Linked DNA regions of Homo sapiens: all the other regions are linked to region 1. The links are contacts of gene promoters, found by promoter capture Hi-C in human tissues and cell types (Jung and others, 2019). All regions are on one chromosome and are shown on one strand. Each heading gives the region's core, a stretch centred on a gene start or on the middle of the fragment in contact. The rest is flanking DNA. Distances are from core to core; before and after follow the strand shown. Region 1 holds the start of BOD1 (biorientation of chromosomes in cell division 1). Region 2 overlaps CREBRF (CREB3 regulatory factor). Region 3 has its middle 29 kb from the start of NKX2-5. Region 4 overlaps LOC105377731 (a long non-coding RNA gene). Region 5 overlaps BNIP1 (BCL2 interacting protein 1). Region 6 overlaps STC2 (stanniocalcin 2).

Region 1 (3,843 bases), core at 955-3,454:
GTACTACCAACCCCTCCACCTGTTCACTTATCAGTTCAAAGTAAATTACAGTGCAAAGTAAATTACAGACATCTGTTCAATTTCCCCTAAATACTTCAGCAGTCTGGGGTGGGGCCCAAAATGTGCATTTCTAACAAGTTCTCAGGTGATGCTGATGTTAATCCAAGCACCACGCTTTGAGAACCACTGGGCTGAAGCAACAAAGGTCTCAGATAAGATATGCCTGAAAAAACACTATCTTCAAGAACTAAAACAACCTGGAATTCTCAGAAGGAACAGCTAAGGAGCTGTACATGGGAAGGTTCCAACCACTCTCCCTCACCAGCCGCTCAAGAGGGTAGTCCCCTCCCCCCTCAGGGGATACGTTCCAAGATCCCCAGTGGGTGCCTGAAACCTCAGGTAGTACTGAACCCTATATACACTACGCATGAATGTCTTTGAGGGCCATTATGAAGTAAAATAGGGGTTACCTGAACACAAGTACTTCCATACCGCAACAATTGGGTAAATGAAACCGCAGAAAGCAAAACCTTGGATGGGGCGGGCTACTGTAGTCGCTTTTGTTTTAAAATCACACACAAAACCTAACGGAATATAAGAAATATGAATGGAGAACTTGTCCTAGGAAAGGTGAAAGCTCTGTCAATACAGATCTGGGATGTATATGTATTAAATTACTTTGTTTCAAGGACAGACTTCTAGTTGGGCTTTTCATCTTGGAGAAGGAACAGTGTATACCACTTTCTCTCTCTACATCCGTATTTACCACCTGGTTTATTTACATGTCAGTTTTCTAACCTAGACTATAAGTTTTGAGGATGGGGTAGTGACTTATTCCTGTAATCGCACAGCTTGGCAACTAGAGGCCAATAAACGTTCAACGAATAAACAGACTACGTTTTTCCCTATCTTAAGGTCTAATTCTAAGCTCACAATCTTGCTGTGAGGTAAGCAAAATGTTTCCATGACAGGCTCTGGTAGGAGAAATCACTACCCTGCAGGAGTCCAGTGACAGGGTCTCCTAACCTACAACCACAGTCGTGGCTAGACAAGTTTTGAAAAGGAAGAAAATGAACATTCCAGCAACTACTGTATGTCTGATACTTAACACCCATTATTTCATTGAATCCAAACCACCCTGACGAGTAGGTAAAGTGAAATAGCGTTTTACTGGTGGGACTGACCAATGGCATTAGGATCTCAACTAGGCACCAAATCTCCTTTTATCAATGATGAAGTGCAAAATAAGGGTGCTGTTTCTACAATTTATCTTAATTCAACGCCGTACTAGTCTGCAAAACAATGAGCTAGAGAAAAGGAATAAACAGCTATAAAATGGTGATGACTGTGTGTTCAAATCATTGTGTTTAATGCCAGCTTCTCAGTGGTGAGTACGGAACAGGTGGAAATTCTAAAGCACGCTTGCTTATCTACTTGGTTTCGAAGTTTGTTATTAAGGGCCTCAGAGGAGTTCCATCTTGGGAATGATACGGTCTAGGCTCTAAAACCCACATTGAAACCCCAAGTTCGGAGAAGGGACTGGGTAAAATCACAACTAGTAGTAAATGTATCAGGCAGGAACCCACGTGTGCATCGCTCAGAAAGCTCTCCGTACTGCCCCAAGCGGTGTAAGACCTCACCGCTGAGATTTCTAAGCTATCTTTTGTTTTGCTCTCGGCTTTCGAAAATCAAAGCTGCCACCCGGCGGCCTCACGTGCAGCCCCGCTCCCCAACGCCCAGGCGGCCGCAGCTACCTTGGTGTCCACGTCGGCCAGGCAGTCCCGGCGGAAGCTGTCAAAAAGGCCCCGGCTCTTGAGCTGCTCCACGATGAGAGCGATGAGCTGCGGGTCGCCGGGAGGCAGCGAGGCCGGGTTGATGGGGCCACCGCCCCCGCTGGCCCCAGTAGCGCCAGTCGCTGCCCCGGCAGAGGCCTGGCTAGTTCCGCCGCCGCCCACCGCGCCAGTTCCCCCGCCGCCGCCGCCGTCCGCCATGGCTGCGCCCCGGGCCCACAAGGGAGAACGACTATAGCTTCTTCTCCAGGACAGAAGGCCTAGAACGTGTAGAGGTGGTGAAGGGGGCGGTGAAGGAGGAGGGCCCCAAGGCGGCAGCGGCGGAGGTGGCGATGGCGGCAGGGGCGGTGGTGGGGGCGGCGGCGGCGAAGGCCCCCTCTGATACAGCAGAGGTTGTGGTGGACGCGGCAGAAACGGCCTGCTCGATTCCAGGCGCACCCCAGATGGCGTCAACGTTGACCTTTGCATTGTGGGGCGGGAAGTTTTCTGTGGCCATCTCCGGCGTTCTTTATAGGCAGCGGCCTAGCCGAGAGAAACTACAACTCCCGGCAGGGTTCGTGCTTGCTCGTCGCGATTTCGCGGGGTAATATGGGAACTGTAGGCGCAGGCCTCGTGATCGCTGCAACCCGCCAGGCCTTCCCCGCCAGGCCTTCCCCGCCCACTCTCTGCTCACTTCCCATTCAATCAACACGTCCCAGCAGTGCCCGATTATAACAGTCATCTGTGGAGCTGATTAAAAGTATAGATTACCAGAATTATTTCTTAAAGATTTTTATCCAGTATTTACGGGTCGAGACCTAGCAATCTGTGCTTCAGCATGCACTCCCACGTCCTTCTTGAACAACATGTTCCGGGAAATTCCGGAAACAGTGGAACAGTCAAACTTCTATTGTTCAGAAATTTGTGAGTTTCCCTCCTTTTGGTTTTAATAGCAATGCATACTCATTTTAGAAAATTGGAAAATAACGGAAAAGTGTGAAGAAGAAAATAAAAGTTTTCCTTAAGTCTGTCTTATATGTGTGTGGATTTCCTCCCAAATATTAAATATTGTCAATCATAAGCCAATATTGAATAATTGAAAAGTGTCAGGCGTGATGCTATGCACTTTCCACGCACTTCTTCACGATAATTTAAAAAAGCAGATACATACTACTATTATTGCTATTTACAGACGTAGAAATGGAGGCAGAAGAAAGTTTGTTAACCTAATCACATACCTAGAGGTAGAAAAGTAGGATTTGAACCCAGGTTTTGAGGATCTAAATCTTGCATTTTAGCCTGAGGTATCCTGAGAGCTAGTTGGTATCCCACAATAGGTAAGGCTTTATATCCTGATTTTTTTAAGTAGCCACAATTCACCATTGGAATCCTATAGCTGCCACCATTATCCTCTCTTCCCTTCATCTTTTGCCTATTGTTAGCTCAGCTCCCCCTCCCAACCTCAGCAATTATGTCTGCTATTGTTGTTTCCTCATCTTACACAAGCAGCAGAGGGGATGTAAATAGCAAATTCTGCAATATCCTTGGCTCCTGCGAAGATGCAGAATTGGCAAAGATCCAGGATGTTCTCCACACCAATATTTAGTACTCAAGACAGTTTAATTTTTTTTTCTTTTTTTTTTTTGAGACAGAGTCTCACTCTATCGCCCAGGCTGGAGTGCAGTGGTGCAATCTTGGCTCACTGCAGCCTCCACCTCCTGGGTTCAAGCAATTCTCCTGCCTCAGCCTCCCGAGTAGCTGGGATTACAGGCGCATGCCACCATACCTGGCTAATTTTAGTATTTTTAGTAGAGATGGGGGTTTCACCATGTTGGCCAGGCTGGTCTTGAATTCCTGACCTCAAGTGATCTACCCGCCTCAGCCTCCCAAAGTGCTGGGATTACAGGTGTGAGCCACCACACCTGTCCAAGAGAGTTTAAATTAACCCTCAAAAGAAACATTCAGGTGTTGGATTATACTCATCCTCTAACACCAGCTCAATCATTCACAATGGGTCAGTTAATGACAAACATTCTCTCTTAATAGCTCACCATCCTTGAGATTACCTAATGTC
Region 2 (4,376 bases), core at 1,198-3,697, 490 kb before region 1:
AAATCTGCATTATGAACTACAGTTTTTATCATCACGAAGTACACTTCTTGTCTGGTATTATCACGAATGCAGCTTTCTTATTATATTTGTTTGGTATTGTTTCTAATCTTATTATTTATATTTGTTTGGTATTCCTTTGTCTACTCTTTTATTTTCAATCCTTCTGAATCATTTTATTTTATTTTATTTTATTTATTTATTTTTGAGACGGAGTCTCGCTCTGTACCCCAGGCTGGAGTGCAGTGGCTCGATCTCGGCTCACCTTATGCTCCGCCTCCCGGGCTCACACCATTCTCCTGCCTCAGCCGCCGGAGTAGCTGGGACTACAGGTGCCCGCCACCATGCCCGGCGAATTTTTTGTATTTTTAGTGGAGATGGGGTTTCACCATGTTAGCCAGGATGGTCTCGATCTCCTGACCTCGTGATCCACCCGCCTCGGCCTCCCATAGTGCTGGGATTACAGGCGTGAGCCACCGTGCCCGGCCTCTGAATCATTTTATATTAGTTACATCTTTTTTTTTTTTTTTTTTTTTTTTTTTTGAGACGGAGTCTCGCTCTATTGCCCAGGCTGGAGTGCAGTGGCGCGATCTCGGCTCACTGCAAACTCCACCTCCCGGGTTCAAGCGATTCTCCTGCCTCAGCCTCCCGAGTAGCTGGGACTACAGGCACCTGCCACTGCGCCCGGCTAATTTTTTGTATTTTTAGTAGAGACGAGGTTTCACCGTGTCAGCCAGGATGGTCTTGATCTCCTGACCTCGTGATCCACCAGCCTCGGCCTCCCAAAGTGCTGGGATTACAGGCATGAGCCACCGCGCCCGGCCAGTTACATCTTTTTAAAACATTTTAGCCAGGTGCAGTGGCTTACAGCTATAATCTCAACATTTTGGGAGACCAAGGCAGGAGGATCACTTGAGCCCAAGAGTTCGAAGCCAGCTTGGGCAACATAAGGAGACCCCATTTCTAGAAAAAAAATACAAAAAGTTAGCCAGGCATGGTGATGCGAGCCTGTAATCCCAGCTTCTCAGGAGACTGAGGCGAGAGGATCGCTTTTGCCCAGGAGATGGAGGCTGCAGTGAGCCAAGATCGTGCCATTGTACTCCAGCCTGAGTGACAGACCTCATCTCAAAAAAAAAAAAAAAAAAAATACACACACACAAAACATTTTAGTTAAATTAAAATGTAACTTAATTTTAATTCAGATATCAGAAAATTTTTTCTTAGATTTTTTTGTTTGTTTGTTTTTTGTTTTTGAGACAGAGTCTCGCTCTGTCGCCCAGACTGGAGTGTAATGGAGTGATCTCAGTTCACTGCACCTCTGCCTCCCAGGTTCAAGCGATTCTCCTGCCTCAGCCTCCTGAGTAGCTGGGATTACAGGCACATGCCACCACGCCTGGCTAATTTTTGTATTTTAGTAGAGACGGGGTTTCACCATGTTGTTCAGGCTGGCCTCAAACTCCTGACCTTGTGATCCACCCACCTCGGCCTCCCAGAGTGCTGGGATTACAGGCGTGAGCCACCACGCTCGGCCTAGATTTTTTTATGTAGCATGTATTTGGATTTTTTTTGTTATTTATTCTGGAGGTTGTACTTTAATAGGTGAGTTTAGCTCATTTTTAAAAAAATTGATCTATGTTTGGTTTTAGTGCTGTCATCAAAAGATCTGCTAGAGTTTGTTTATGTGGCCTTTTTTTTGCCTTTACATGATCCATTATGGTTTCACTTTTGTTTGTATCCTCTGATAATTTTCAAAGCTTTGTGTTTTTACCTTGTGGATTGGCTTTTAACTGTAACATAAAATGTATACTTATTTTGTCTGTCAACTTTTCATTTAAGATTTTAATCCTATAGAAAAGGAGAAAGAATTGTACGATGAACATATATGTTTCGTTCAACTGGATTTACCAGTTGTTTTCACTGTTCTTTAAAATTCATTGCTTTTTTTTTTTTTAGAAACCAGTCTCGCTCTGTCACCCAGGCTGGAATGCAGTGGTGCTATCATAGCTCACTGCAGCCTCCAACTCCTGGACTCAAGTGATCTTTCAGCACCAACTCCCAAGTAGCTAGGACTACAGATGTGCGCCACCATGTCCAGCTAATTTATTTATTTTTATTTTTATTTTTATTTTTATTTTTGAAATGGAGTCTCACTCTGTCTCCCAGGCTGGAGTGCAGTGGCGTGATCTTGGCTCACTGCAACCTCTGCCTAGCAGATTTAAATGATTCTCCTGCCTCAGCTGACTCCCAAGTCACTGGTCGTACACCACCATGCCTGGCTAATGTTTTTGCATTTTTAGTAGAGACAGGGTTTCACCATGTTGGCCAGGCTGGTCTCAAACTCCTGACCCCAAGTGATCCGCCCACCTTGGCCACCCAAAGTGCTGGGATTACGGGCATGAGCCAGCTCACGTGGCCAGCAGCAAACTTATTTTTATGTTTGTAGAGACGGGTTCTTGCTGTGTTGCCCAGGCTAAGCTCAAGTGATCCTTCCGCCTCAGCTTCCCAAAGCACTGGGATTATAGGCATGAGCCACCCCACCCAGCCCTCACCAGTTGTTAATATTTTGCTACATTTGCTTTATTTCTACCTCTATCTACATGTGTATTTTGGACAGGGAATATTTGAAAATAACTCGTAAAAATCATGATTCTTTGTCTCTAACTATTTTAGCCTGTATTGCTTGAAAACAAGGACATTCTCTTAGCCACAACGCCAGTGTCACATCCTAGTGCTTCAACATTGATATAATATCTAATATGGAATCCATTTTCCCAGTTGTCTCAATAATGTCCATTATAGCATTTTTTTGTGTGTGTGATCCAGTCGAGGATCATGCATTGCATTTAGTCATATCTCTTCTTTTGTTTTCTTTAGTCTACATCAGTCTCCCCATCTTATTTTATTTTTATGAAAAATCCAGGTCTTGTAAAATGTCTCAACATTTGGATTTATCTGTTTCCTCATGACTAAATGCAGTTAGATTTTCTGGTAAGAATACATCATACAACCTTTTCATTCCATCAGTCAAGAGGCACATAATATCAGATTGTCTCATTATTTGTCATGCTAAGTTTGATCACATGGTTAAGCTTGTATATATGTATACACACACACACACACACACACACACACACACACACTTTTTTTTGTTTGTTTTTGGAGACGGAGTCTTGCTCTGTCACCCTGGCTGGAGTGCAGTAGTGCAATCTCAGCTCACTGCAACCTCTGCCTCCTAGGTTCAAGTGGTTCTCCTATCTCAGCCTCCTAAGTAGCTGGCATTACAGGTGCCTGCCACCATGCCCAGCTAATTTTTGTATTTTTAGTAAAGGCAGGGTTTCAACTTGTTGGCCAGGCTGGTCTCAAACTCCTGACCTGTGCTCTGCCCACTTCGGCCTCCTAAAGTGCTGAGATGACAGGCCTGAGCCACCATGCCCGGCCAGTATTTTTTATGATATCTTTTGACTTCTTCCTATGAGCAATGACAAATATATTTCTTTTTTTTTTTTTTTTTGAGATGGAGTTTCACTCTTGTTGCCCAGGCTGGAGTGCGGTGGCACAATCTTGACTCATTGCAGTCTCTGCCTCCTGGGTTCAAGCAATTTTCCTGCCTCAGCCTCCTGAGTAGCTGGGATTACAGGTACCCGCCACCATGCCCAGCTAATTTTTTGTATTTTTCGTAGAGACAGGATTTCACCATGTTGGCCAGGCTGGTCTCAAACTCCTGACCTCAGGTGATCTGCCTGCCTTGGCCTCCCAAAGCGTTGGTATTACAGGCGTGAGCCACTGCGCCCAGCCGACAAATTCTTTTTCCTTTCCCTCCCCTCCCCTCCCCTCCCCTCCCCTCCCCTCCCCTCCCCTCCCCCCCTCCCCTCCCCTCCCCTCCCCCTCCCCTCCCCCTCCCCTCCCTCTTTCCTCCCCCTCCCCTCCCTCTTTCCTCCCCCTCCCCTCCCTCTTTCCTCCCCCTCCCCCTCCCCCTCCCCCTCCCCCTCCCCCTCCCCTCCCGTTCCTTTCCTTTTTTTTTTTTTGAGGCAGAGTTTCACTCTTGTTGCCCAGGCTGGGGTGCAGTGGCATGATCTTGGCTGGCCCCAACCTCCACCCCCCGGGTTCAAGCAGTTCTCCTGCGTCAGCCTCCCGAGTAGCTGGGATTATAGACATGTGCCACCACACCTGGGTAATTTTGTGTTTTCAGTAGAGACAGGGTTTCTCCATGTTGGTCAGGCTGGTCTTGAACTTCCGACCTCAGGTGATCTGCCGACCTCAGGTGATCCGCCAACCTCAGGTGATCCGCCTGCCTCAGCCTCCCAAAGTGCTAGGATTACAGGCCTGAGCCACCGTGCCTAGCTGACAAATATATTTCTATTTCCATCCTTTTTATTTTT
Region 3 (4,172 bases), core at 791-3,290, 350 kb before region 1:
TTCTTCCTGCCCTAGCATCACAAATTAAGAAGACTAGCTGCTTCTTTGTTCCACTTTTATATTTATCATTTGATCTTCCTGTGAAATAGCTGAACAGACATTTAAACATCTATCCTCTCGGCAGAGAAAAATGAGGAGCAAGACCTTAAATAATTGCCACATAGCTACTCAGAAAAGCCAGCCTTTCTGATTCCTAGCCCAGTGCAACTCGGATCCTGAAGTCAGGCTGCCTGGGTATGAACCTTACTCTGCTACTTATGACAGACATGATCTTGGGCAAGTCACTTCACTTATATGATCCTCTGTTTCCTCTTCTATCAAATAAGGAAAGTAATATCACTCACTTCATGGGATTTATTATGAGGTTTTAATGAGATGGACAACAGATCAGCAAATTTTTTTCTGGTGAGGGGTACACAGTAAATATTTCAGGCTTGGCAGATCCTATGGTTTCTGTCACGATTACTCAACTCTGCTGTTGTAGGTGAAAGTAGTCATAGACAGTATGTATTCAAATGGATATGGCTGTGTTCTAATAAGACTTGATTTACAAAATCAGGTGGTGGGCTAGATTTGGGCCATGGAGTGTAATTTGTTGCCTCAGTGAGAGAGTATGGAAAGATCTTGGCCATTGCCCACTGCCAGAGAAGCATTTGATAAGTGATAGCTACTGATGATATCATACTGTTATTATTACTTTATTATCTTAGCAGTCTTGTTCTTCTGCTTTCCTTTTTTTGGAGACAGGGTCTGTGTCACCCAGGCTGGAGTGTATTGGTGCAATCATGGCTCACTGCAGCCTGGACCTCCTGGGTTCAAGTGATCCTCCTACCTCAGTCTCCCAAGTAGGTGGGACTAAGTGCCACCATGCCCAGCTAATTTCCATTTCTGTACTTCCTCTCTCAGCATTGCTATTTTGTTCCATCTACTGGAGTGTGAGAAAAAATTCAGTTCCACTCTGGCCACCTGTGGTAGCCAGCTTCCAAGACGGACCTTGGTGATTCTCAATTCCTGATATTCTGGAAGGATAGGAGGCCACATGGAGAACTGAAGCTCCTACTCCCCTCCAACAGTGAGTAGGACTGACCTGGTAACCAATAGTGTATTGTAGAAATGACTGTGTATGAACTCTGACTAGTGTTGGCCTCAAACTCCTGGGCTCAAGCAATCCTCTTGCCTCCCAAAGTGCTGGGATTATGGGTATGAGCCACCATGCCCAGCCTCTTTATTATTAGTTGATTTTTCTATATTTAATTTTTCTTTCTTTAAAAAATACTGCTTTGTATTCTTTGTGTCTTATTTATTTGCTTATTATTTTTTACTGTGTTTTGGACATTGCATTTGAAAAATTGCTTGCAGAACTAATTATAGGCTTCAGATGATGATATTTTCCTCCTAAGAAGATTTATGTTTGTCTCTGCTAGGCTCCTGGGGCACCGACAATTTAGGTTTACTGAAATCTAATTTCGGGGGTTTAGAATACCTGAAGTGGAGCCATGGTCTCTGCAAGGGCCTGTCTGCTTCTGGGTCACATTTACTTGTAGGGAGCTTCCCTTTAGAATCCCAGTTCAAGATGAATCTCAACTCTAATCTTGGTAAGCTTCACATTCGTCCCTGCCCCTTTAGCCCCGTGAGGCTCTTGAAAGTCCACCCAGCCTCTCTGCCAGCCATGGTAGAATTGGCCCACGCTGCCAGGCCCAGGGTAGCTCAAAGGACAGACTCACTTCGCACGGCTTCCTCCTTCCTTTGGGTCCTGGCTGGTTATTCTTCACTATTTTGTAGCTCTCTGGTGTCTTTAAGCAGTTCGGTTTTTTTTTTTATTTTGAATAATTATCAAATTTATTAAAAGCGTACAACAGATGCTTATAAACAGCAGCAAAATAAGCTGATAATCTTTTTCATTTCATCTGACCAATAAAATTCTCACAGTCTATACAGATTTTTCTTTCAGTTTATTTTACTTTTGTATGCTTTAGTGACAAATCCTTACACCTGAGACAAAGTGATCATCATTTAAGAATCACCATCATCATAAATTATTTTACATTTATTTTATTCTTTTACAGACAGGGTCTTGCTCTGTTGCCCTGCCTGGAGTGCACTGACTATTCAAAGGTGCCCTTCTAGTGCACTGCAGCCTTGAACTCCTAGGCTTAAGTGATCCTCGTGCCTCAGCCTCCCATGTAGCTGGGACTACAGGTGTGTGCCACCACTCCTGGCTTATTATTTTACATTTATTGAGATGAAGGGCAGGTTAATTTCATTATTTACTTTGAATCGATTAATAACCCTCAATTCTAAATGTGCTGGGCAAAGTAACAGAGAGGGCTTGACAATATCCCTCTTCATTATGTATTCCAAGACATTTCGTGATTTTTTTCCCATTTGTCTGATTTAGGATTTACTTATTCTGCAGCATTCCCAGTTGTCCTCAGTGGAATGGAGGGCAGTCTGAATTACGTACTTTGCTATTACTGATAATGGGAGTTCACCCTTCCAGATTTTATTAGTTCTAGTCTCAGCATGGTAACTAATTACTTCTACGACCTTGGGTTGAGGTTGGGCACGGTGGCTCACCCCTGTAATCCCAGCACTTTGGGAGGCCGAGGTGGGCGGGTCACTTGAGGTCAGGAGTTCGAGACCAGCCTGGCCAACATGGTAAAACCCTGTCTCTACTAAAAATACAAAAATTAGCCAGGTGTGGTGGCAGGCGCCTGTAATCCCAGCTACACGGGAGGCTGAGGCAGGGAGAACTGCTTGAACCCAGGAAACGGAGGTTGCAGTGAGCCAAGATGGCACCACTGCACTGCAGCCTGGGCGATAGAGCGAGATTCTGTCTCAAAAAAAAAAAAAAAAAAAAACTTTGGGTCACATGTGCTTTTCTTTCTTCATTTGTCAAATTAGATTGTTAACACTGGGCTTACCTGCCTCCTGGATTATTGCAGGAGCAAATGGGATAAGCTACATGGAAACCTGGAACCCAGTGTAAATGTGAGGTGCTAAAGCCCAGGTCCTACACCCTAGATTTCCCAAGGCATCTGAGCCCTGTGGGAAGGAGGGCCCTTGTTGACTCCCAGCCCCAGGGTGCAGGTGCCCAGAGCAATTTGCATCAGGTGGTCTCTTTTGTTGCTTTCTAAACATCAGGCAGGTTAATGGTACACCATTCTGCAAGTCAAATCTTGAATCTGGATGATCAGGTGAGTTTTTATCGTACTTTTTCTCATTTCTTTTCCCCCATAATTGCATTTCAGGAAGCGTCCCCGGGTTAGTTCTTTTTCTTTAGTTTTTGTGTCTAATAACTTTCCGTGAGCAGACCCCACAGTGTGCAGCAGTGAGGATCCCTGGACTTGGTTAAAAGAAAACCTCCAAACCTTGACCTCCCTGGGCAGCTCAGCCTGCCACCTGGCAGGGGCCCCTCTGGGGCTCACACTTGTTTTGGCCTTTGTGAACTGCGCAGAACCAGGGCTGACCCTGCCGAACTGTGGATGTGTGGCCAAGACAGGTCCCAGTGTCCTGCCCGGGCTGTGCATGTGAGGGAGGCGGTGATGCAACGTGATGGCATTTGTGACAGGGTGAGGGAAAGAGATTGCTGGCTGGGGCTTCAAGGGGTGTGATTAGATTACGGCGGAGTTGCCTGTTTGGCGGAGATGGAAGACTTGGTTCTGTTCATTTCATAGGCAGCGGATTCCCGCAGTTTCAGACTGGCCAGAGAAATCCATTTCTGGAGTAGTAGGCAGAAATGTGGAGCTGAGAGGCTCATTCCACAATGCTTCCCTGAGCTTTTGCTTTTTACTTCTTCACTTTTTTTCCTTCTCTGGCTTTCTTTTTCTAAGCTCGCACGCTTCCACAATGCTAAAACATCTGCTAATAAAGGTTTTATTAGCAGCTTTTATTCCAACCACCTGGAATCCAAAACCCAAAGGTTTTATTCCAACCACCTGGAATCTTGTCAATCTCAGCTTATATTCCTTCTCGTCTTCCTACCCACTCATTGCTTTTGTTGTGTATTTAAGTCCTTTCAGGGGCAGGGAGCAAAGGGCTTGGGGGCAAAGACATTGGGCTTTGGTGTCAGACTCACCAGATTTGAACTTTGCTCGACCACTTTTACCTGGGTGACTTTGGGCAAGTTAATCAACTTCCATGAGACTTAGTTTTCTCATCCACAAAAAGGA
Region 4 (4,121 bases), core at 60-2,559, 330 kb before region 1:
GGTAATACAGGTCTCAGGGCTGATAGCACATATCTCATAGGGTTGTTTTAAGAGTCTTAAATGAATTTTCCTCCCTCCCCCCTTCCCTCCCTTCCTCCTTCCCTCTCTCCCTCCCTCCCACCCTCCCTATCTTACTTTCTCCTTCCCTTCCTTCCTTCCTTCCTTCCTTCCTTCCTTCCTTCCTTCCTTCCTTCCTTCCTTCCTTCCTTCCTTTCATCCCTTCCTTCCTTGACAGGTCTTGCTCTGTCACCAACGCTGGGGTGCAGTGGTTGGATCACTGTAGCTTCAACTTCCCCAGGCTCACTGTAGCCTCAACTGCCCAGGCTCAAACAATCCTCCTGCCTCAGTCTCCCAACTAGCTGGGACCACAGATGTTCACCACCACTCCTGGCTAATCTTAAAATTATTTGTAGAGACAGGGTCTTGCCATATTTCCCAGGCTGGTCTTGAACTCCTGGGCTCAAGTGATCCTCCTGCTTCGGCCTCCCAAACTGCTGGGACTATAGGTGTGAGCCACCACACCCAGCCTTATTATCATTGTTTTCTAGTTGTGGGTGTTTTCATTTTTGGACTGTTGCTCTCCCTTTACAGTGACAGATTTCTTTTTCTTCTAGAACTACGAATCTTTGTTTCCCTGTGATCAGACAGATAGAGTTTGCAGGGAGGGTTAGGTATGAACCCGTTGGAGATGTTGGATGAAGCAAGGCAAGTGGAGACGATTCCTCTGAGAACCTGGGCTGCTTTCTACCATGGCCACACTTTTGGGGGCTGCCACCCCTGGCTGGGAACCTGCCCTGACCTAGGGAGCCACTGAGCAGGGTGTCACTCAGCGTCCCCAACACCCTGGCCTGTCAGGCTGAGTCCAGTTCCTCCTGCTCAGCACCAGACACCTCCAGACCCTGGAGTCGGGAGGCAACTTAAACAAAGGCGTTTATCTCACCCGGGCTCTCCTGCTGCTCTGCTGGACTGCTCAGCCAGGCTCTGGACAGCATAAAAAGTCAGGCTCGGATGACAGAGGCAGAATTTAGAGCCCTTTTGGATGGCAGCTGGGATCTGAGCTGTCAACCGGAGGCGAGTCAACACACTCAGGCTCGCTGCAGCTCTGCACAGAGAGGGCAGGGCAGTGATGCTGTGCAGAACTCCCGTCTAGTCCGGCTTTTTTCTATTTATAATTTCCCTTGATAATAGAGCCCATTCATTGCCTCCGCAGGCCCCTAATTGCTCTGGAGCAGAGGGATGACAGCCTAATTATTAACTTCACAAAAATTGAAGTTGGGCTGTGTCAACAAAGTCCACTCACTGTCACCCAGATGCGACTCTTTGCCCTTCATGGTGGCAAAGGGCAGTTAGGAAAAAAAAAGAAAGAAAGAAAGAAAAAGGCTGGCGTGGTTCCAGCTTAAGCAGGCTTTTATTTTCTGGCCTAAAATTATTTTGGGGGAGGCTCTACTTAGAGGAAAGAGAATGCCTGTTTCCTCTTTGTTGTAAGCTGTGGTCAGCTGGTCACCATGCCCCCGACTGGAGGTGACGTTTTTGATCTTTGGAAATATGACCTGAGAAAATGTTAAAAGGGACCTTAGCGACTGTGTGGCTGTGATTAAAAACGGGGCCCAATTCAGCCTGCAGATATGTTTTATTTGGCTAGCAGAATATTTAGCAAACTTTTTTGTTTTTTAAATTGAGGGAAAACTCACATTACATAAAATTAACCACTTTAAAGGGTACAATTCAGTGACATTTAACACATTTCACAATGTTTTATGACTATCACCACTACCTAGTCTCAAAACATTTTTATCACCCCAGAAAAAACCTCTGTCCCCCTTAAGCACTTACTCCCCGTGTCCTTTCCTCCCAGACCCTGGCCACTGCCAATCTGCTTTTTGCCCTTTCTGGATAGTCCATCTAAATGGAATCATGCAAACTGTGGCCTTTTGTGATTGGCTTCTTTCACTTCCCATAAGGTTTGCAAGATTCTCCTGTATCATAGCATCCTTTCTCAAAGGCTGAAAAATGATAAAAAGCTTTTGAATTCATTTCTGTCAGCCTTATTGAAATATAATTTGCCGCCCACACAATTCACCTATTGAAATGTACAAGTCAAGGGTGCAATTCAGAGTTGTGCAACCATCACAATTAGTTTTTAACACTGAAAAATCAGGAGATTTCATAGAATGCCTTGAAAAATCAGAGGACCTCGTAGCACACAGCTGGCATCACAATGCTAAATGGGACTTGCACTCACAGGTCTCCTAGGGCCCCGCCACTTCCTGCTGTGCTGACCTGGCCACTGCGCTCATTTCCTAACTGCATAGCCCTGGAGGGATGTGAGCCCGGATTCTAGTCCAACCCCTGATTGGACAGATGGAGAAACTGAGACCTGGGTAGGCCACGCTGCTTATTCAAGGTCACACAGTGATATAGCTGTGAGTGGAATCCGCGTTTTGGACTCCCACTGCCCTGTGGCTCTTTCCACAGGTATTTAAGCTAATCATCAGCATTTTAATCTTAAGGGCAGTGTAACCCTGCGTTTATGACAGGCTTTGTGCTGAATTTGATTAATGTGCACTTTGAGGACATCTCCAGTTTCCTTTGGGAAAACACCCCAAGTAATCATGTGGTTTGGGCAGGGCAGGTCCTGACCCCCTTTCCTGCAGGAGTGCTAGTGACTTCCCAGGCCTGATGGTCAGGCTGCATTGCCTTAGTGTTTGGATTAGCATTGAGGAATTTTGTTGGAATTATTGGGAAAGAGAAGCTCTCTTCCTACTAAGGCCCTGAGAAGCTGAGATGTCAGCTGCAGCCTGGTGGGGGGCCATCTTGCCATTGTGTTGAAAGAGACTGCCTGAGATTTGAGTCAGTACAGAGGAAAGAAGAACCAAGAGACAGACAAAGCAGATTTCTCCCTTTCTCATACTAACCAGGCCTGACCCTGTTTAGCTCCTGAGATCAGGCAAGACCAGGCATGTCCAGGGCGGTGTGGCTGTAGACAGAGAAAGCAGATTTCTAATGGCACCATTTGAGCACACTGATGTAGCTGTGCCTGAAACCCTAATCTTTTTAGTTTTCAGTTTAATAACTCAATATATTCTATCTTTCCTTTTTTTTTTTTTTAACTGGATTGAGTTGGATTTCTGTCACTTGCATTAAACTGATCAATCCAAAGTATATAAAACACTAAATTCGGCCAGGCGCGGTGGCTCATGCCTGTGATCCCAGCACTTTGTGAGGCCAAGGCGGGCGAATCACCTGAGGTCAGGAGTTCGAGACCAGCCTGGCCAGCATAGTGAAACCCTGTCTCTACTAAAAATACAAAAATTAGCCAGGCGTGGTGGCAGGCGCCTGTAATCCCAGCTACTCGGGAGGCTGAGGCAGGAGAATCGCTTGAACCTGGGAGGCGGAGGTTGCAGTGAGCTGAGATCGAGCCATTGCACTCTAGCCTGGGTGAGAGTGAGACTCCATCTCAAAAAAACAAAACAAAACAATGCACTAAATTCACTCAAAGAATATTTATTGAATACTCACACTATACCAATGTTTTAAAATACATTATCTCATTTTACTCTTATAGTAAGACAGTGATGTGGGCAGCTATAATTATTTCTAGTTTACAGGGGACTCGATGGGAGGTTAGAGAGATCACTCACCCAAGGATACTCAGATTGTGAGTGGATGGCCTGGGGTTTCCACTTCAAGGCTGGCTCCTGTGCCCCAGCTCCCTGGGACATCACAGGAAATGCTTTTCAGTTTCCCAAGGACCGTAAACATATCTTTCCTCCCCATCCTCAAAGTATTCCAGACTTTGGAAGTGTGGAAAAGTTGGAATATATGGGTGTTGGAATACATTTAAAAAATCCCACCATTCACAAATAACCCACACCAATTTTAACTTAATTCTAGATTTTCAGTGCAGTTTTTTAATACATGAAAGGTTATATAAAAGGAATCAAATATCAGTATGTACAATGTCATATTCTGCATTCTCATTTAAAATGATGTCAAAAGAATGAGGAATAGTCTCTTTTAAACAATTAATTAATTAATCAATTTTTGTAAAGACAGGGGTTTCACTATGTTGTCCAGGCTAGTCTCAAACTTCTGGGCTCAAGTGATCCAGTGATCCTCTT
Region 5 (4,261 bases), core at 1,127-3,626, 450 kb before region 1:
TGGGAGGAAGGTCTGGCATTGGGATGCCGCCCTGGGGACATACGAACCGCCTCCTTCCACCATTGTGCACTATGGGAGGCCGCTGCTGCGTGGAGCACTTAAAGTCCAGCCTCCAGGACCGGATGCCCCTCCTGTCTCCCGCTCCCATCGTGCCCTTAAATGCCAGATCTGGTGGAGGGAAGAGAGAAGAGGTAGGAAGAAAGGTGATGAAAACTCCTGGTCATTCCTTGAATAAACTTGATTTTATTTAATAGAATAAAATGTATTTGATTTTGTAAGATAGCCCTCTGGGAATGTGTGTTCCTCTTTTCTTTTTTCTTTTTTTTTGAGATGGAGACTTGCTCTATCATCCAGGCAGGAGTGCAATGGCGCAATCTTGGCTCACTGCAGCCTCTGCCTCCTGGGTTCAAAAGATTCTCTTGCCTCAGCCTCCCAAGTAGCTAGGATTACAGGCACACACCACCATACCCAGCTAATTTTTGTATTTTTTTAGTAGAGATGGGGTTTCTCCATGTTGGCCAGGCTGCTGTCGAACACCTGACCTCAGGTGATCCACCCATCTTGGCCTCCCAAAGTGCTGGGATTACAGGTGTGAGCCACCATGCCCAGCCCTCTTTTCTTGATGTCCAGATTTTTAGGACATGAACCTAGATTATTTATTTATTCATTCATTCAACAACGAATTAGCATTGTTATTTTCTTTCTGTCCCCACCCAACAACAAGGAACTATTAAACAGCTGCCACACACAGGGTGTTATAGACGCTGCTGAACATGACAAATACATTGGTGAACCAGACATGGTTCCTCCCTCAAGGAGGAACAGAAGGAGACACGGAAATAAAATCTCACAGACTATCAGGAAGGAGGGTCCAACAGCCCCTGTTCAACCAGGTGTGGTGGCTGATACCTCTAATCCCAGCATTTTGGGAGGCTGAGGCAGGATGATCACTTGAGCCCAGGAGTTCAAGACCAGCTAGACAACATAGCAAGACCCTGTCTGTATTTAAAAAAAAAAAACAAAAAAACAGAAACAGAACAGAAAACAGCCCTTGTTGGAAGTGGCTCACACCAACATCTGAAAAGGCTGCAATGCCATTCTCTACCACAGCAGCCTGGCCAGGCCTGGGGGTGTGCAGTGATTCGGGCTGGCACATGCCTTTCTCTCTGATGTCCAGAGCTAAGTATAACCAAGGAGGGAGAAGCTAGTGAGAAGCTGAGACTGTGTGAGCCTGAGTTCTGTCCAGGCCAGAGGGAGAGGGCCCAGGCTAGGCCAGTCCTAGAGGTGCTGTGTCTTTTGTGCTGCAGGCCTGGCTGACCTCAAGCTTGAAATCCCAGCCTCCCCCACTATTTATAGCCCCAGAGGACCTGGGAAGGGCAGTGTGGAGGCTGAAGGGAAAGTGGGAAGAACATGGACTTTGATCCTTGGCTCAAACACTTGGTTTTGAGATTTGGCTCCACTGCTAATGGACCACAGGACCATTGGCAAGTTACTTTATGTTGCTAAGCCTCAGTTTTCCTATCTGTAAAATGGAGGTGATAATCCATATGGGTCCTCATAGAGTCAACTTGAGAATCCAATGAGAATATAAAGCAGCAAGTGTAGCTAGCTGTCTTCAGACCAGGCCTGCCATGGCCTTTCCAAATGCTGCCACCCCCTGGGCCCTGGGCACTGAGGTTTCCTGCAGCTGACAGCAGCGGTGCTTCAGGAAAAGCTGGGCCAGGCACCAGCATTCTGTTAGAGGTGTTTGAGCAGAGGATGTCAAGAGTTAAGGCCTCAGTTATAAAGTGGCAGATCATCATGGGACCAAGTTATAAAAAACTAGCTGCACATCTCAGACCAGCTTAATGAGTGGATTCCAAGTTAAAGTGTGGATCTAAGTATAGATCCACACTGTGTACACACACACACACACACACACACACACACACATAATTTTGTAGGCTGTATATCATCCTTAAACAATTCCTGGCCCCAAAAGACACTCGGTGCAGATTGTGCACACATGTGTCTTATTTATAGTCAAATTAAAGCTGAGAATAAAGCACAGATGGGAAATTCCCACTCAGATTCCAGCTGTAAGTGCAGCAGATGGATGTTATCAAGTTCAGATTTTCTTGTCTTAACATTTTTCTTTACTGCTTCCCACTAATTGTCAACATCCTCCTCACAATATGGAATTGCGTGGGCTCTGTATGCCCTAAAATTGCTCCCTTTGACACTTTATTCCTCTTTTACTTGCCTCCTCCTGAAAATAGAGTTGAATGTGACCCATTTTGAAATGTCATTGATAACAACATCTTGCAACCTCCACCAGCCACCAGGGTTAATCCTTCCCCAAAGCAGAATGCGGCCCTCTCCATGCTCAACCATGAGAGGGCAGTGTCCACATTTGCTCTGCCTTCTTGCAGTGGGTGTGGTAATCTTCATCGGTCCATTTGAAATGCTCTTATGGATATATATATATATATATATATATATATATATATATATATATACACACACACACACACACACTGCATATATATATATATGTACTGCGTGTGTATATGCAGTATATATTTATATGTAGGTATCAGATTTTTTTTTTTTTGAGACGGAGTCTCGGTCTGTCACTCAGGCTGGAGTGCAGTGGCGCAATCTTGGCTCGCTGCAACCTCCGCCTCCCAGGTTCAAGCAATTCTCTGCCTCAGCCTCCTGAGTAGCTGGGATTACAGGCACCTGCCACCACGCCCGGCTAATTTTTTTTTTGTATTTTTAGTAGAGACTGGGTTTCACCATCTTGGCCAGGCTGGTCTTGAACTCCTGACCTCGTGACCCGCCTGCCTTGGCCTCCCAAAGTGCTGGGATTACAGGCGTGAGCCACCGCGCCTGGCCAGATTTTTTAAAACATAAATGTATGAAGCTTACCTATATTTTGTTTTTGGATATGTTTCCTAAGTGGCCATAATTTTCACTGTTAAATAGTAATGCAAGCTCAGATGCTACCTTTTTTTTTTTTTTTTTTAGACAGGGTCTTGCTCTTTTGCCCAGGCTGGAGTGCAGTGGTGCGACAATGGCTCACTGCAACCTCTGCCTCCTAGGCTCAAGCGATCCTCCCACCTCAGCCTCCTGAGTAGCTGGGACTACAGGTGTGCACCACCACGCCTGGCTAAATTTTGTTTATTTTTTGTAGAGATGAAGTCTCACTTTGTTGCCCAGGCTGGTCTCAAACTCCTGGGCTCAAGCAATCCTTCCACCTCAGCCTCCCAAAGTGCTGGGATTACAGGAATGAGCCGTTGTGCCCGGCTCATCTGTTACATTTTGATTAGCTGACAGTCAAGGAGTTAAAGGTATAGAGCAGTCATCAAGAGATCTTTCATTCAAGAAGTATTTACTGAGCACCTACTATGTACCAGGTACTTGTGTTAGAGCTACACAGTGAACAAAACAAAGATTCTCTGTTGTCATGGACCTTCTGGTGTGTAGGGGATGTTGGGCAGATGATAAACAGTTAATACATGAAATGAGTGGTTTGGGAAGAGTGGAGCTTATTGATGGCGATCTGGATGGAGAGGTGGGAGCAGGTTTGCAGTGTTAAGCAGAGTGGTCAAGGTTGGTCTCACTGGGGTAGGATTTGAGCAAAGACTTGAGGCAGGGGAGGTGCGTCCTGGGGACAGTCGAGAGAGGGTTCTGCACAGAGGGAGCAGCTGGAGCAAAGGCCGGGCAGGGGCACACTGGCACATCTGAGGAGGGCAAGCAAGGCTGCGTGGCAAGAGGTGAGTGTAGGGGCTCAGTGACCTCAGGCTGCCAACCTGGAGCCCATCTCCCGCCCATACCCACCCTTTTCTTACCTCTCACAATCTTTGGCCCTGTTGGGCACTGGTTCTTCCAGAAAGCTCCCCGGCTATGTGGTGCCACGCTCTCTTGGCTTCCGTCTTACCTCTCTGGCAACTCCTCTCCTATTCAGGCTTAAATGCTTCAGATCTTGTTCCCTTTGTATCAAAGGAAAGGTCATCCATGTTCCTACACTTTGACCATATCTACAGGATGCTCAGCCATAATTCAAAAGTTAAATGTGCAATGCAGGCCTCCCAGGCAAGCTCCAGACCCTGATCAGCTCCACCGCCCTGTGGCTGGTGCTCCTCATCCGCCCCACGTTCCTGATCGCTCCCCACCCCACAGCCTGGGCCTTCCCGGGCTTCCTGGCTTCCCTAGCACGCTTCCTATTTTCTCCTTCTTGGGTCTCTTTTCCCTTCATCCAGCCCATCTCTTTGAAACC
Region 6 (4,163 bases), core at 354-2,853, 300 kb before region 1:
GAGAGAGATCCAGCTGCTGTTTAGGGCCTGCTTGATGACTTTGGAGTCAGCAAGTCTGTGCATGGCCGCTGGGCAAAGGGCTTTAAACCCCCTAAGGCAGGCCCCTGACAGCGCAAGACAACCTAACCCTGTCCCTTGGACTGCCCTGAGGTGGGCAGGTGGGCATGCAGGAGGCAATATGAGGGAAATGCTCCACGCGTGCTTGTTTCCTTCTATTTTTTGAAAACTAGAAACTGCCTCCGGAGCTCAAGTTCACCGAGTGTGTCTGCTAAAGCAGCAACAGGATTTTAGCACCTGACTGTGCCTGCCGCGGCACCAGGGCTAGGTGAGCACACTGCAGGGGTGAGGGTCTGTCTTTCTGAGATACTAACTGGATGCTGTCTTCAAGCTCCTTTCCCCAGAGTAAGGGGAGGGCTGTCTTGGGAATATGCAGACTGTCTTTCGCCTTCCCGGCCAGGGCGTTCTGTCTGCCAGATGAGCCCCCAGAAGCCCAGGGCGGATCTGGATCCCAGAAGGCTGGATGAGCCCATGCTGTCCTCTGCCCTTGGCCCTCTCTCTCTCCAGGAGGAAGCTGTGAACTGCGGGGAGGGGTGTGTGTGCCGAACCAAGTTAATCCAAGCCGTGTTCCGAGCTGGCCTGGTGCCTTCTGAGGCTGCAAGCTCAGCCCGTGTCTAATGACAAAGTCCAGCTCGTTCAACTGGGTGTCAGCAAGCCTAAAGGATTTTAAAAAATACTTGGAGGGGGATGTGCCTGGAGCCTGCCAGCACCCAGTGACATGGCGAGTGGGGGTAAAACCAGGCAGGCGGCAGCTAGGGGGAGACAGATGCTGTGCAGAAAGTGGGGCGGGCAGGAAGGGGTGAGGGGAGCGGAGAGGAAGAGCTTGAAAAGAGCAGCATTAACTGGGGGTGAGTGTTCTGGTGTGGATGGGGGTTGGGTTGAAGAATGGGGGTGGTGCAGATTCTGGGGTGACTGTGATTTCCTCATCTCTAAAGTGAAAAGCAAATTCAGTTCTCTCTTTTTTTTTTTTTTTGACCAATGCCACACATTTGGAAATGGGCTTCTTGATATTTGGGGACTGATAGGATACTTTAATCAGTTAAGATGGTTGGGAAAAAAAAACCTAAAAAACAGGCAGTTCAGCTAGAAGTACAAGTCGATGCACCGCCACATCATGGCTTCAGAAGGAAAGGTAATGGGGGTTTTTGGGAAGCTGGAGTTAGGGGAGACCCCTGCCTAGAGATGCTGACTTAGGGGGAAGCAAGAGGAACAGCATGTGACCAGGCTTCTTATATGGGCTGCCTGCATTTCCAGAGCAGGCTGGGGTGGGGGGTCATAGGCTCATTCTGAATGGTGTGAGGAGACCATGGCCCCGAGGGCCACATTCCCAAGAAGGAGACACTAGAACGCCAGAGAGCTTTACCTTCTTCTTAAATTAAGGGGAGGGGGTGGGACTTCCAACCTTCAGTTTTCCCAAAGAATACTTTTCTCCAAGAAAGATAGAATTCCTGTGCTCCAGGCATGCATTATAGCCTTATAAACTAGGAATGGGCCCCATTCCCCACCGATTCCTGAGGCCAGCAAACTCTCTCTAATGGGGGACAGGGCTAGAGGCGAGTGAAGCTCACGGTGTTTCCTAGCCATGGGGCATTTTTCTCTTCCAGAGGCACCTGAAGGAAGGGAATTTTAGAGTGTTCTCCTTGTGTAATGGGGATATATTTGATAAAAGGACAAGAAGCCCACCACATGTGGGGAGCTGTGAGCCCTTTCAGGTCTAGGAGGGAGATAATAGGCTGGGAGCAGGTTTGAAGTCTATTCCTGATGACTGGCTTCAGTCATGTATACCAGCAATTCCGAAGCTTAAAAGCAGGAATCAAACCTCAGTCCGAGTTCTCTAATCTCTTAGCTTCACTTTCCTCCTCTTGGGCATAGTAATTTCTATCTTGTAGCATCTTTGGGAAAGATAAATGAGATAACCCATGTAAAGGCCCTGGCCAAGGGCCTAGACCATTAGAAAAAAAATTAAAAAAACATAAAAAAAGACAGCTATCATTGTTGTTGATGATGCTGTGGCTGCTATTGTTCCCTTAAAAATATTTGAAGAATAAAAAATATTTTGTAAGGCGTTAGCCTAATTCGAGGAAAATGCAATATTGTTTTGCTTTTGGCAAGAGCTTCCTGCAGAGTTTCGCCATGAATTGTATGATTCTAACACTGTAGCAAGGGTGTTGCAAGATGCCTATGACCTTATAACCAAGTGGAAAGAGACAGGAGGTGCTTGCTGTTCTCTGTCATCTAAGTGGTGTTGGTGTGGTAGGGACATAACTGGAAGAAGGTTGTGGCACAAACTGAGGATCAAGAGTTCATAAAATTATACCGATTTGGCTCAATGAGTCACCGTGGAGAGACCAACAGTGCCATCAAACTGGTAATGACTTGTACTGAACTGGTTGGCTAGTGGCTTTCTTTCTGCCCTGTGTCTCTTAGGAAAGAGCCATTGTCAATATTTAAAAAAAAAATCTTCAGGGGCTCCTGGCCCTGCCTCATGTTAGGAACAATTGTGTACCAACATGCTTTACCATGCTGCAAAATTTAGGATCCTGTGGCTGAAATATTTTGTAAGAAATGATGCATCCTGAATTTATCATTGAATTTCAAGTCTTGAAATAAGTAAGTTCACATTTCCTTGTTTTGGCATAGAAGTGTTTAGCTGATTAAAGTTTTTGGCACTTGTTTTGCATTTCCTCTGAGAGGGCACTAATGTATGAGAGAAGGTAAACCGAACCTTCTAAGGGAAAGGAAAGTTAAGGAGGCAGGAAAAGCATCTATAGCTCTGTTTTCGGGATTTAAGAGTATAGGTTCTGGAGGCAGACTGCTCAGCAGACTGGAGCCAGGTCCCAAGTCTGGCTTTGCCTGTCACTAGCTGTGTGAGCTCTGCCTTAGTGAGTCTCAGTTTTCTCATCTGTCAAATGGAGGTGACGAGGGCTGTGGTGAGGATCAAGTGAAAAATTCACAAGGAGCCCTTAGCCCAGTGCCTGGCGCTTAGTAAATATTCAACAAATGTTATTAGCAATTTGCTGTCTGTAAGGACACCTCTACAGCTACTCAGAATATTCTGAGAGCTAGTGGGTTCTTGGCTAAGGGGAAGATGAAGAGTATTACTGAATCGACACATTTCATTCTTAGTAAAACGATTTCCCATTTCTGTTGCTTGTGATTTTGAGACTGATGAGGGAATTCTCTCTTTTCCTAAAAGCCAGCAGGAAAGGGGCCTTTTAGTAGAGTCAGTGTAGCTTTCTGAAGTAAATGGAAGCCTTCTCCATTTGACAGGCATTCAGCCTCTAGAAGCAACGCGGCTCTCCTCCCATACACATTGCCATCCTTGCTGGGTGGCCCCTTCACCCAGGCCCTCTGCGGGGCAGTACTCACTCGTGCAGCAGCAAGTCCTTGAAATGGATCATCTCCACTATCACCCGGGTGTTCTCCTGGGCAGCCGCGCACAGGTCGTGCTTGAGGTAGCATTCCCGCTGCAACTGGGACACCATTTCCCTGATGGCCGGGCACTTCCGGCTTATGCAGCCGAACCTGTGCCGCAGAGCGTGGGCCTTACATTTCAAGGCGTCTTTGATGAATGACTTGCCCTGAGAACACACAGGCCGGGGAAGGGAGAGAGGGGCAGAAAGCAGAAGACCTCGTTACATGCTTGGACATTTCAGCCCTTCTTGGGCTTACACAGGATATTTCTGACATCAGAACCCCAAGGCCCCACCAGAGACGGACGTCCTCCCAGGTGACAGGCAATGCGACATCCGGAGGCACGTCCAGAGTGACATGACACCCCCAGCACTGGGCAACAAGGGATGTTCATTCTGTAGACGAACACATCTCCCTCCTTCCTCCCTGGCTACTCTGTGAGTTTCCCTCCAACGGGGGCTTCCGTGGCTATGTGTCCCTCAGGTAGCCCTGTGTTGGTTGTGTGGTGGCAACTTTTCTGGAACACAAAGGGAATTTGGCCAGACACAAATCCATAAATCCCTCACGGTTCTCACAAGCAGTCTTCCCTAAGTGGAAGGTGCCTGCATGTCCAAATCTCACACGTTTCCTTTTTCCCTTGATTCCAGGGGCGACACCGAGATTGATTGCTGATTGTACCTCCCTTTCTGCCT

Evidence for each region. The method cuts DNA at HindIII sites, captures the fragments that hold promoters and counts their contacts. A contact is called where the count stands out against the background at its distance.
Region 2: a fragment that was not itself captured here is called in contact with the fragment with the promoter of BOD1 in region 1 in 1 of the 25 tissues and cell types used here (ovary).
Region 3: a contact is called between a fragment that was not itself captured here and the fragment with the promoter of BOD1 in region 1, in 2 of the 25 tissues and cell types used here (IMR-90 fibroblasts and liver).
Region 4: a contact is called between a fragment that was not itself captured here and the fragment with the promoter of BOD1 in region 1, in 2 of the 25 tissues and cell types used here (IMR-90 fibroblasts and dorsolateral prefrontal cortex).
Region 5: a contact is called between a fragment that was not itself captured here and the fragment with the promoter of BOD1 in region 1, in 1 of the 25 tissues and cell types used here (IMR-90 fibroblasts).
Region 6: a fragment that was not itself captured here is called in contact with the fragment with the promoter of BOD1 in region 1 in 4 of the 25 tissues and cell types used here (IMR-90 fibroblasts, aorta, hippocampus and 1 more).

What each region holds. Positions count from the first base shown.
Region 1 is chr5:173,614,446-173,618,288 of GRCh38, forward strand. BOD1 (biorientation of chromosomes in cell division 1) reads right to left here and starts at 2,205. Exons shown (of 4, transcript NM_138369.3): 1 at 1,755-2,205. The coding sequence starts at 1,991. RefSeq lists silencers at 2,012-2,061, 2,072-2,141 and enhancers at 2,122-2,381, 2,402-2,481. The HindIII fragment of the contact is 11,068 bases long and covers 1-3,843 here.
Region 2 is chr5:173,128,595-173,132,970 of GRCh38, forward strand. The region is part of intron 8 of CREBRF (CREB3 regulatory factor); the gene reads left to right. Among named protein-coding and RNA genes, the nearest start is that of BNIP1, 14 kb to the right of the region's middle. RefSeq lists an enhancer at 187-687. The HindIII fragment of the contact is 4,974 bases long and covers 1-4,376 here.
Region 3 is chr5:173,262,094-173,266,265 of GRCh38, forward strand. No RefSeq gene overlaps it. Among named protein-coding and RNA genes, the nearest start is that of NKX2-5, 29 kb to the left of the region's middle. RefSeq lists an enhancer at 3,105-4,172. The HindIII fragment of the contact is 6,740 bases long and covers 1-4,172 here.
Region 4 is chr5:173,289,639-173,293,759 of GRCh38, forward strand. All of the region lies in intron 3 of LOC105377731 (a long non-coding RNA gene), which reads left to right. LOC124901136 (a long non-coding RNA gene) reads right to left here. Exons shown (of 2, transcript XR_007059055.1): 2 at 3,489-4,121. It also overlaps the pseudogene RNA5SP200. Among named protein-coding and RNA genes, the nearest start is that of MIR12118, 12 kb to the right of the region's middle. RefSeq lists an enhancer at 2,831-3,080. The HindIII fragment of the contact is 4,421 bases long and covers 1-3,520 here.
Region 5 is chr5:173,164,106-173,168,366 of GRCh38, forward strand. It overlaps BNIP1 (BCL2 interacting protein 1), which reads left to right. Exons shown (of 6, transcript NM_001205.3): 6 at 1-282. Among named protein-coding and RNA genes, the nearest start is that of BNIP1, 22 kb to the left of the region's middle. The HindIII fragment of the contact is 6,261 bases long and covers 1-4,261 here.
Region 6 is chr5:173,319,793-173,323,955 of GRCh38, forward strand. It overlaps STC2 (stanniocalcin 2), which reads right to left. Exons shown (of 4, transcript NM_003714.3): 3 at 3,427-3,638. Among named protein-coding and RNA genes, the nearest start is that of STC2, 6.5 kb to the right of the region's middle. RefSeq lists an enhancer at 3,951-4,163. The HindIII fragment of the contact is 5,604 bases long and covers 1-4,163 here.